Regions from separate parts of the Homo sapiens genome. Here region 2 is linked to region 1. The links are contacts of gene promoters, found by promoter capture Hi-C in blood cells and fetal thymus (Javierre and others, 2016). All regions are on one chromosome and are shown on one strand. Each heading gives the region's core, a stretch centred on a gene start or on the middle of the fragment in contact. The rest is flanking DNA. Distances are from core to core; before and after follow the strand shown. Region 1 holds the start of FATE1 (fetal and adult testis expressed 1). Region 2 has its middle 28 kb from the start of MAGEA6-DT.

What was found. The method cuts DNA at HindIII sites, captures the fragments that hold promoters and counts their contacts. A CHiCAGO score of 5 or more calls a contact.
Region 2: a contact is called between a fragment that was not itself captured here and the fragment with the promoter of FATE1 in region 1, in 2 of 17 cell types (M2 macrophages and M1 macrophages). The highest score is 8.4, in M2 macrophages.

What each region holds. Positions count from the first base shown.
Region 1 is chrX:151,712,768-151,718,964 of GRCh38, reverse strand. FATE1 (fetal and adult testis expressed 1) reads right to left here and starts at 2,930. Exons shown (of 5, transcript NM_033085.3): 1 at 2,740-2,930; 2 at 1,566-1,693. The coding sequence starts at 2,845. The HindIII fragment of the contact is 6,237 bases long and covers 37-6,197 here.
Region 2 is chrX:152,795,008-152,801,204 of GRCh38, reverse strand. No RefSeq gene overlaps it. Among named protein-coding and RNA genes, the nearest start is that of MAGEA6-DT, 28 kb to the right of the region's middle. The HindIII fragment of the contact is 6,373 bases long and covers 1-6,130 here.

The DNA of each region.
Region 1 (6,197 bases), core at 1,681-4,180:
TATTTTTATTCCCAGGAAACCTCTAACCTGGAAGCTTTTTTTCTCATTCTTCACTGGGGCCACCCAATAAATCATTTCAGCAATCGAGTCTCCCTCCCTCTCCAACCTTATTGCCCCCCAGTAACTTTCAAACTTCACTGTGGTAACAGTAAAGCCACCATTTTCTAAAATTTTCCCTCATCCATCTGAATGTGGTGAAAAGCACTGGCTACAGAATGATGGGATTCGTGATTCCCTAAAACAGTCAGGTCTACCTCCTCTCCAAAATGGCTCAGTATCCTTTGCAACAATGTGGCCAGCATTTTTCTAGAACATTCAACACCCACAATGAATGTAGCTTAAAGTACAGAACTATGGGACTCACATGATTTCCTGGAGCAGTCAGGCCTCCCTCCCTCTCCAATCTTGTTGCCTTTTCCCAGCAGCCTTTGCAACAGCATAACAACAATTTTTCTAAAACTTTCCCTTACCTACAGTGAATGTAGCTAGCTAAAATGATTGGATACAGAACTGTGGGACTCACTTAATTCTGTAGAATAGTCAGGTTTCCCTCCCCCTCCAAAATGACTGTGTTTTCCCAATATCATTTGCAACATTATAGCCACTATTTGTTCTAGAACATTCCTTCACCCATATTGAATGTAGCTTAAAAGGATTGCCTACAAAATAGTCAGATTCACTTGCCTGGATTTCTTTCTTCTTTCTCTTTCTTTCTTTCTTTCTCTCTTTCTTTCTTTCTTTCTTTCTTCCTTTCTTCCTTCCTTTCTTTCTTTCCTTTTCCTTTCTTTTCCCCTTCCTTCCTTCCTTCCTTCCTTCCTTCCTTCCTTCCTTCCTTCCTTCCTTCCTTCCTTCCTCTCTCTCTCTTTCTTTCTTTCTTTCTTGACAGAGTCTCACTCTGTTGCCCAGGCTGGAGTGCAGTGGCATGATCTCAGCTCACTGCAACCTCTGCCTGCTAGGTTCAAGCAATTCTCATGCCTCAGCCTCCTGAGTAGCTGGGATTACAGGCATGTGCCACCATGCCCAGCTAATTTTTGTATTTTTAGTAGAGACGGGGTTTTACCATGCTGGCCAGACTGTTCTCGAACTCCTGGCCTCAAGTGATCCGTCCGCCTCCTCCTCTCAGAGTGCTGAGATTACAGGCATGAGCCACCATGCCAGTCCACTTGACTGGATTTCTTAACAGCCAGAAAGCATAGGAGCCTCACCTGACTTATTGTGTGTATACACGCGCACACACACACACACACGTACCACACACATAATTTTAAATACAGGAAAGCGTTATTTCACACAATAGATTTATAGAGTAAAGTATTTATGTACTCCCCATGCAATATTTGTTTCAGGCATTCTGAATTCCCAAGGTTGAACCCCCAGCATAGGAAAGGATGACCCTGACCTTTAATTGGAACTTCCTGTCCTCATTTGCCAGCTTGGAGCACAGGAGCTTCCTCCTCCTCACAAGTCAACGTCTAGCCCTGCCTGACCTGGTCAGGCTAGAGCCCCTACAACCAGTACTCCCAACCCCAACCTGGCCACCAAGTGCTGAGGACCCCATACAGTACCATTTTCTTGGGTCGGGTGGCAGTCATATTCCAAACTCGTTTGGCTGAAGCAGAGCCAGCAGCTTTTTGTTCCAACTTCTGCTTCTTCTGGGAGGCACCCCGGGACCGAGATCCAAGCTCCATCATTTCTAGAGAGAAGAACAGAAGCTCCAGGAGCACCCATAGAAGTTGCACCAGGGTTTCTTGGGCACAAAACACACCAAAAAGAAGACAGAGTCTCCAGCTTTCTTGGGAATCACTCAGCACCCATTAACCACTGTCCATCAGCTGATCCCAGGTCTCAGTTTGTTCATCTGTTCAAAAGTTAAACCGGAATTTCCTGAGGGCTGAGCTCGAGACTAGGTTACTCTCCAGTAACCTAGAGACCAATGACCAAGAACAAGATTCCAGCTATCAAGGAACTGACCATCTGTTTGTGTATAAGGGGGAATGACAGGTGTAAAACAGAAAGCAATCTATCCTTGCAAATGCAGACAGAGAGATGCAGGCTCCATAAATGATCAAAACAGGGTAACATAGTGGAAGGAAAGGGCTCCTCCTAGAAAAGTAGGAGACAGCAATTGAGGTGGGGACCTGAAGGAAAAAAAGGACCCAGCCCTGGGAAATTGAGGGAAAGAGCATTCCAGGCAGAGGAAACAGCAAATGCAAGGTCTTTGGGGGAAGAAGCAGGCTTGGAGCATCGTAAGAACAAACATAAATGCAATGTGATCTGGATCCCTTTGTGTGCTATAGAAATGGTATTTTCTGTCTATATCATAGCATGAAACGTTTTGAGGAGGCTGATACAATCTTATAGATCATGGAATTTGGATTTTCCTCCAAATGGCAGGAAAATGAATTGGAGGATTGGGAGAGAGAATTGATCTCTGGTCTCATAATTTGAGCCCTCTGAGTATTTTGCAACAGAGACTGTGGTGGCTTGGATAAGGGGGAGACAGAGGTACTACACATGTTGTTCCCATCCTCCTCCCTCCCAGGGAAAAATGCTCACATCATCTATCCCTTTTCCCCTAGCTCCCTTACATCAACCCACAAATCCTCGAAGCCCGGCCAACACACAGATGTGCAAACACTTCCGTGCACACATGCACCTTTTCCAACACACACATGCACAGGTATAGACACGTATCTACACAGTTGGCTGTAGCCTAGGGGTATTTTAGGGGATCCTCACCTGCTATCACCAGGTGCTCTTGGTTTTCCCCTTGGCGTCCATGATTCAGTTCTTCTGCCAGGGACATTTCCATCTCCGCCTTGGTGTTGGGAGGGCCTCCTGCCATCACAACCAGCTGTTCTCTTGTAAGCTATGGCTAAGGATGCACAGGGTGCCAGGAACAGAGGAGTCACACTCAGAAAATCACCTCTTCCGGAAACAGGAGCTCAAGGAAGATATAGTCAGATCTGGGGGTGGAGTGAGACTCCCTCTCTAGGCTGAGGCCTTGGACACAGTACTTTCTGTTTCTATTGTATCTTGCTGGCTAGGTCAGTGGCCTTCTCCTCTGCTACTCTGTAAGCAACTTAGGAGAAGAGATACAATTCCGTGCCTTTGCCTGTGAGAACTGCTCTGGCTCATGAATCTCCATATTTAGCCCATGGGGAGAAGGGTGGGGTCCACCCTCCATCATTTCTATGAAGAAACAGGGATTGGCACAGGGTCCGAGAGCCAACAGTGGCCACAACAGAGTTAGGTGCTAGCAATCCAGGCCATACCACACCTTCAGAAGGGATTCTCTGGAGAGCGTATCCTACCTCCCCCATCCAGAGTCCCCAGACACGGGAGGTAGCCTTTTCCTGAAGTAGGTCAGCCTAGGCAGGAGCCATAACAAAGGGAGAGAAGGGCAAGAGAGGTGGGACCTGACTGCAGCCACTAGAACCCCCAGGGGCCTCAGGCCCTGCACCTTCTAAGTCCCAGTTCTCCCTCAGCTTCCCTACTGATTAGACCACTGTGATGGTCAGGTTTATGTGTCACCTGGCCAGGTTCTAGTCCCCAGTGACTCCATCAAACCCTAGTCTAGGTGTTGCTGTGGAGGCATTTTGTAGCTGTGGTTGGCATCTACAACCAGTGGACTTGAAATAAAGTAGAGACCCATCCTCGATGATGTGAGTGGGCCTCACACAATCAGCTGAGAGGCCTGAAGAGCAAAGACTGAGGTTTCCCAAAGTAGAGGTAATTCTACCCCAGGACTGCAATGTCAACTCTTCCTTGAGTTGCCAGCCTGCAGGGCTGCCTTGCACATTTCAGACTTGTCAGCCCCACAATCGCATAAGCCAATTTCTTAAAATAAATTTCTATATACTTGTGCATATGCAGATATATACATACATACATGCATACATACATACATACATACATACATACATACATACATATATACATCCTATCAGTTCTGTTTCTCTGGAAAACCCTGATTGCTACAACTACCTGTGGTGAACCCTTCATTCTAGGAAACAACCCCAGAGCCCCTGGGGGAATAGGAGGCTATTTGTAAAAGGAATCAGGACAGGTTTATATAAGGTTCCTTTTACAAATAGCCTCTTCTTCCCCCAGAGCCCCTGGGCCAGGTGGGAGGAAGAGGAGGAAGGAAGGAGGAAAAGAAGAAGGAAGGGAGGAAGGAAGGAAGGAAGGAAGGAAGGAAGGAAGGAAGGAAGGAAGGAAGGGAGAGAAAGTGGAAACGAAGGGGCCAGGAGTAGCTGAGATAGGGCGGCATGGTCTGAGGCTGCCTGCCCCCTGCCCCCACCTCACCTGTCCAGCTTGGGAACCAGAGCTGATATAGGCCCTGCCTGCATTCCTGGGGGCCCCAAAGAAGCCCTTCCCAGATCCAGTGGAGCAGCTGTGATGAAATTCGAGCTTTCTGGAGGGCCACCTTGGGAGCAGAGAAACTGCTGAGTGTGCTCAGCTCAGTGGGATTCAGGAGCCTGGGAAGCCCAGCCAGATTGAGCAAATGAAAATATAGGTACGAAGTACATTTAAATTTCAGATAAACAACAGTATAAGTATTCTCTCGTACACTAACTTTTGGGACATATTTACACTAAAGAATGATTCATGGATTGATTTGACATTGAAATTTAGCTGCATATCCTGTATTCCATCTGACAATCTTATCTCACTATGACTTCAAGATTTTACCTTGGGCAAGTTTCTCGCTTCTTTTGGTGTCAGTCTCCCCCATGGACAAGCCTCCCTACAGGGTGGCTGGATTGTGAGGAGCACTCAGAAGTCAGCAAAGCTAGAGCAGTGTGGGCACTGGCTTGCCACAGGGCCTCGGGCTATGGAGGCCAGATTTCTGTCTCGCTATCAACTGGCCCTGGTGGGGCTTCTTGGGCACAGGAGCACAGGGTCCAGGTGCATGTGGAGGCACTGCCCCCTGGTGGCATAGGAATCCACCACCTAAAGCCAAGCAAAGAGGGTGGGAGAATTCCTTCCCAATCCCTGAACCCCCAATGCCACTCAAAAACCCCAGCATCTCACCCCCTTAGCATGCCTTCCTTTCTTGGATTGAGTGCCAAGGACAACTTGGAGGTGACGAGAGTTTGCTATGTGCCTTTGAACTTGTCTCTTAGCATGCTAGCTAATTATAATTTCATAATTATCATCTGCATGGTAATCTCCTTTTGAAATGGCCCTAAATTCGTACTCCAACCATTCTGAAAAGCCCCCTACCCCAAAGTCTGTGTGCTAACCTCAGGGCCTCGAAGGACTAGAGCACCTGGGATACAGAGAGAGACCTTTCAAGTCTCACACGGTGCCTGGGTCCAGGAAGATGGCACATGGCCAAGTGTACATAACAGGCTGCAGAGCCCTAACACTCCAGTGGAAGGTTCTGCTCACCCAAAGGTTCAACAGATGCTTCTTCATAGGGGAAAGAAGGGTCCAGAACATACCTGGCTTGTATGTGTGTCTATATGTTTTCAGTGTTCAGTGTTTTGCACAATTGAGATCACCTACATCTGAGGTGTGTGCCATATTCTGCAACTTATTTTTTCAAGTGAACCATGTGCTTTGGGGAATCTCTCCGTGTGAAAACAAATCTACCTCATTTCTTCTCAGCCCAGCATAGCATTTCCCTACACAGCTGCCTCCCCTTGCTCCTTTATTGACTTGCTCATGGATATTTTGGGTGTCTAGAGCTTTTATATTTTTAGAAACAATGTAGCACTGAGCATTCCTGAACATGTCTCTCTGCACACATAGGTAAATGGGTTTGCACAGCAGGTGCCTATAAGTGGAATTGTGGGGTTCTAGGGTATGTGTGTTGATGATTTTGACCTATATGGACCAATATTGTCAAAGGAGCCTCCAAAGAGCCTGCACAAAGTGAAGCCTCACCTAGAAGAAAGTCCGTGTTTCTTCCCAGTCTGATCAACAGGAATATTATGCAACTATTTAAAAGGCTTAATGGGTGAAAAATGATATCCATCTCATTGTTGCTTTAATTTATATTACTTTAATTATGAATAATCCTGAGCAATTTTTCATATGTTTATTGATCTTCTGTATTTCTTTCCCATGAACTGTCTGCTGGAGGGTTTGGATCTTTATTAAAATAAGAGCTATTTTATTAACAGAAAAGAATAAGACAAAAACTCTCCCTCCTTTCAAGCTAAGTATCTCCAAAGGAAATGTATCAT
Region 2 (6,197 bases), core at 1,695-4,194, 1.1 Mb before region 1:
CCCGCCGGAGAAATAGCCAACAAGGTCTAGAGTACATTTTGCGCCCCACAGGGTGATGAAAATAAAATGAACCTGTTGTAAAATGATGTGTGGGTCTGTATATTCTCAGATGGTGGGGAGGGAGGGAGGAAGGAAGAGGCAGTGGTGTGGGAAGGGAGGGAGGTGGGTATTCTGGGTTTGGGGCCAGAGTATATATATCAAGTATATCTCAATAAAACTATTTTTAGAAATTATATTCTGTGAAAGTTGTCAGAATCAAAATGGAGTCACTAATGTTAAAAAACCACTGACAAATACAGCTGCAAAAGGTTATGAAGGAAGGGTTATCATGTAAGAATGCCTGATAACAAAAGAGTCTGCAAAACCTACAGCCTTGTACAAAGGCCATTACCACCTTGTGCAAAAAATACTTCTGTGAGGGCATCCGCCTAGCAACTGCTTGTCCAACCTTGGCCTGGCATCACCCTTGTTATTGACCTTTGTAGTCAATGATAATTATTTCCTTCTTCTTTTTTTTTTTTGAGACAGATTCTCATTCTGTCACCCAGGTTGAAGTGCAGTGGCACGATCTCAGCTCACTACAACATCTGCCTCCTGGGCTCAAGCCATCCTCCCGCCTCAGCCTCCAAGTAGCTGGGACCACAGGCCTGCACCACCACATCTGGCTAATATTTTGTATTTTTTGTAGAGATGGGATTTTGCCATGTTGGCCAGGCTGTTCTCGAACTCCTGAGCTCAGGCCATCTGCCCTCCTCGGCCTCCCAAAGTACTAGGATTACAGGTGTGAACTGTCACGACTGGCCTAAGGATAATTATTTCAAAGGAATTATGTAAGTCTCCTCATTTTTTCCTTTTAAAACCTTTGTCTTCCTTTACCTCTCTGAATACACATCATTTACTGTGGCACGTGTAATCCCACTGCAATGCTCTATTCCCAAATTTTCTTTTAAAGAGCCTCTCTCCATATAATTAGGTTGACAATTCCCTGAAGAGAAAAATAACTTTTGAAAAAATAAGGATAAAAGATTGGGGGAAGAGCATTTTATCACAGAAATTATATAGACATACTGGAGTATGGTGGTAAAAATCAAGATTGGCTTTTATTAATTTTATTGTTTTAAAATTATCTGTAGGGATTCAACTTCCACTTCTGGGAAGATGGAGTACTCTCCTATTTCTCCTGCTAAGCACAACTAAATGCCCAGAATGTTATACACAAAACAAGCAGTAAGATGGGTCTGAATGGTAGAGAAAAGAGGAGACTGGCTAGGGACCTTGGAATCCAAGGAACAACATAGCATAGCGGTGAGTTCCCTGTGTTTTCTTTTCTTTCTTTCTTTCTTTCTTTTTTTTTTTGAGACGGAGTCTCGCTCTGTCACCCAGGTTGGAGTGCAGTGGCATGATCTTGGCTGACTGCAACCTCCCCCTCCAGGGTTCGAGCAATTCTTCTGCCTCAGCCTCCCGAGTAGCTGGGATTACAGGCGCACGCCACCACGCCCAGCTAATTTTTGTATTTTTAGTAGAGACGGGGTTTCACCATGTTGGCCAGGCTGGTCTCAAACTCCTGACCTCGTGATCTGCCCACTTCGGCCTCCCAAAGTGCTGAGGTTCCCTGTGTTTTCTTTATGCCTTATATATCCCAGAAATGGAGCTAAATAAGCCAACAGGTACAGGGAGTTGAGGGGAGAAGCCTCAACAAAAGCCTTCTCTCTCTAACCAAAAAATCAGGAAAAGGGTAACCTAGCAAAACAGAAAACTTTTAGACACTAGCTGCTCTACTCTCACCAAATATCAACACATACAAAAAATCTATGGCCCCACTCACATCCACACCAGCAAAGGCTAAGAGGGGAGCCTGGATTGCCACCCTCACTAGGCTATATCAAGGGCTCCAAGTACCCCCTCACCAGCACTGGAGTGGTGTCAGAGGTGACTGAGTAGAGAGCTTGAGCTTTTATTCCCAGCATGTAGTAATGAAGCATTTCCCTCCCCACAGCATGTTGTTTATATAGCTCATGTGGGGAACTTGCACTTCCACTCAAAGATAAAAGTCGCCCTTTCCTCTCCTGACTGGGGTGTCATCAGAGGAGGTCTCATAAAAAGTGAGGACTTTCACCACTGTCCAGGAACAATGAGACCATCCCTACAACCTGTGGTGTCAGCAGAGGCCACATGGGGAAGAGTAATGAGAAACACTCACCCCTCCCAAACAAGGAGGTATCAGTAGAGCCCTAGTATGGGGCCAGAACTCCCACCTAAACCCAGCAGTATTGAGTGGGCTCCCACTTGGGTGTCAATGGAGGCCAAGTGAGGAACTTGATCTTCCATTTCCATATGTCAGTAATGAAGTGGTGCCCTATCTCTTTTGCTAGAGTGATGTCTGAGAAAGCCAGCTAAAACACAAGGTTTAAATAAGATCCAGAATAATATGACATAACAACCAAAATATCAATAGCTCAATCAAAAACCATTCACATAACAGAAACAGGAAGATCTTGAACTGAATAAAAACTCAGTCAGTACACATCAACACCAAGATGATGGACATTGAGAATTATCTGACAAAGATTTTAAATCAGCCATTATAAAAATGCTTCAAAATGCAATTATAAACACATCTGAAACAATTGGAAAAAATAGAATATCTCAGCAAAGAAGTAGCACATATAAAGAAAAATCAATTGATGTTTTTAGAACTGAAAAAAGCAATAACTGAAATGAAAAACTTAATGGATGGGCTAAAAAGCAGAATGGAGATGACGGAGGAAACAATCAGTGAACTGAAAGATAGAACAATAGAAATTTCTCAGTCTGAACAACAGGGAAAAAATACATCAATATAAAAATGAGCAGAGCCTCAGAGACCTGAGGGACCATAACGAAAGATTGAACATTCATGTCACTAGAATACCAGAAAGAAAAGAGAAAGAGAATAGGGCTGAAGAGGTACTCAAAGAAATAATGGCTTAATGCTTTCCAAGTTTAGCAACACTCATAAACCTATAAATTCGAGAAGCTGAATGAATCCAAGGAGAATAAATCCAAGTCAAGATACGTCATAGTCAAACTTCTGAAAATTAGAGACAAAAAAAAATCTTGAAAGCAGCGAGAGAGAAATGACATCTCAGTTTAGAGGGAAAATAATTCAAATGACAGTGAGGTTTGCAACAGAAACCATGAAGCCCAGAAGAAAGAAGCACAACATCTCTCAAGAGCTGAAAGAAAAGAACAGTCAACACAACCCTACATATAGCAAAAATATCTTTCAGGAATGAAGGGAAAATCAAGATATTCCCAAATTAAGGAAAACTAATAGACTTTGTCACCAGGAGATTTACCCTAGAAGAATGGCTAGAGGAAGTTCCCTAAACAGAAAGGAAATGATAAAAAGGGTAATGGGGAATTGGAACATTGGGAAGGAAGAAAGAACATGGTAAACAAAATGTAGATAAATACAATAGACTTTCTTTCTTCTTTGAGTTTTCTAAGTTATGTTTGACAGTCGAGGCAAAAATTATAGAATGGCCTAATATGTCTTTAAATGTATGTATAAGAAATACTTAAGACAATCACATCATAAATGGAGAAGGGTAAAGGGATATGAAGGAAGGTGAGGTTTCTACACTTTACTTGAACTGGTAAAATGTTGACAACAGTAGAGTGAGATAAGCTAGGTATATATAATAACTAAAGCAACCAGTAAAAAGGATATACAGTTGTAAGTTGGCACTCCCATTCTTACAAGAAAATGCTTGACAAACTGAAAACTTTTTCTTACACCCATCAGAGAACTGAGATTGCAGGGCAAACCACTGACTGAAAATGTGGAGCGACTGGTTCACACAAAGAGGAGCAGGTAAGATCTGCTTACCTGTAGCAGAAGCTGCTGGAGCCATAAACTGGTAAGAACATCTAAATGGTGATTTTGATGACTTTCTGAAAGCTGAGTGTGGGGTAATGTAAGTGATAAACTACCTGGGGCTGCAGTCTTAAGGGGCAAACATTACAGGCTTTATCTCCAGGAACCCCACCATATTCTCGCAGTGAAGATCTGAGAAAAGTTGGCCTTGTGGATCTGACACTGGGAGGCAAAGATAAATCATTGTAAAAGAAATGCCCAAGATTTTCCACCTTCACCTCTGAGGTTATATACCCCATTCTGGCTACAAGATAGGCTAACGGCACCTGAGACGCTGAAGCCAAAGCTGAGGAAGAAAGCAAACTCCGCAACAGTTGAGTTGGGCCTGGGCACAGTAAATCTGGAGATGACTCATACCTTCAGTGAACTCGTTCACAAAAACACAAATCAACCTCTTTTAGAATCTCAGGGTTCCCGAATACTGCTGAGGGCCCTGTCAAGAGCGAGGGCAGCTAAAAGAAAGTACATGGAGCAGAGGTGGGGCAGGCATTGATCTGGGTGGGTGTTAATCATGGGTAGATGAGATGATCAAGATGGCGCCCTTCCTCCTATAAGGCCCTCTTAGTCCATCACCCTGGGGCTCATTTTGGGTGACCCTATTCTCATTCAGAGGCTGTTTGTCAGCCTGAAGCATTTCCAACCAGAAGCTCCAAATCCCATTTTGATGGTGGAGAGTCTTCATTAAGATTCTTCCATGACCCAACTCCCCAGACTAGTGGTAGTTCACATGCTGGAGGAAAGGCCCTCCAACCAGCATCACTGGTGGCTCCCCATCCATGGAAGAAAATCAAGGTGAACTTGGGTTTAGCTGTGACTTCTTAGACACAACACCAAAAGCATGACTCATGAAAGAAAAAATGGATAACTTAGACATTATTAAAATTAATAACTACTCTCTAAAAAACACTGTTAGGAAAATCCTGCCCATACCGGTGGTAGTTCATGTGCTGATGGGGAAAGCCCTTCATTCCTGGAGGCCCTCTGGCCACTATGTAATTAGTTCAGGCTCATCCCATGATACCTGTCTTCTCCACACTTAGAGTACCTCTGATCTCAGGAAGGAGGGAGACCCCCTTCCTTGCTCCATTAAGTACTCCAAGTCCCACTAGTGGGGGTCTACAGCGAGGGTTTTCTGTCAAGGAACAGGATCTGGAGGACACCTTGCAATGAGCAAAAAAGGAGAGAAGCCAAGGCCCCAAAACCCCTCTTCCCACCAATGGCTCTCACCCAGATGAGGAGGAGGTAGCACTTTACTCCCATCACATGTGGACAACCTGGCACTGCCTCTAAGTTGATAGAGACCTCCTGGGCCTGGTCAGGGTGTTAGCCCAACAAGCCTTGTCAGAAGTCTCAGGAATCATACTGTCAGGTCACACTTCTCTGAGCTCCAGGGCTCTAGAGATCAGCAGGGGCTGTGGTGAGAGATGGAATGAACAAATCACTGGTCCAGGCAGCCTTCTCCTAAGCCTCCTCCTGTCTAGCCACCAGGTCTAGCTCTTTGAAAACGAAGACCCCTGAGGGTGGGAAGGTCATCTGTGTTGGAGACAAGGGGCAGAAGGAGCTGCCATTTCCCCCTTCCTCCTTGACTTGTATCATCTCCAACCCTTCTGGTACTGACCAATGTCCCTAGCCTCTTTCAGTCCTTTCCCCTCCAGCATTATCGATGCTCTCCTTGACCCATACTGCTTGCTCTCTAGATGATAGAAACATATGAAGGCTCATTTTTACCATTCCATGTATTTTATGTATATTTGAAAAAAGTTACAGGAAACCTTTAAAAAGTAGTTCTTTAATCCTCCTGGAATTAATTTTTGTGTGTAATTCCAAGGAGGGTTCTTGTTACATTTTGTTTTCTACATGGATATTTAGTTGTTTCACTGTCATTTATTAAAAGTTATAGTTTTATTATTGCCCTATCTCTCCTGCTCTTTTTAAATATATAAATCAAAAGTCCATGTATTAAGTGGGTGTGTTTCAGGAATCTCTATTCAGCTCCATTGTTCTATTTGTTACACCTTGTACCCATACTACAAATTCTTTATCACTAGAGCTTTCTAGTCATTCTTACTATCTGGTGGAGGAACTCCTTTTATCTTCTTTTATCTCAAGAATGTCTTGGCCATGCTTAGCCTATTGCATGTTGTGTTAATCTGTTCTCACATTGCTATAAAGAAATATTTGAGACTGGATAATTTATAAAGAAAAGAAGCTTAATTGGCTCACGGTTCTGCAGGCTGTACAGGAAACATGATGCTGGCATCTGCTCAGCTTCTGGGGA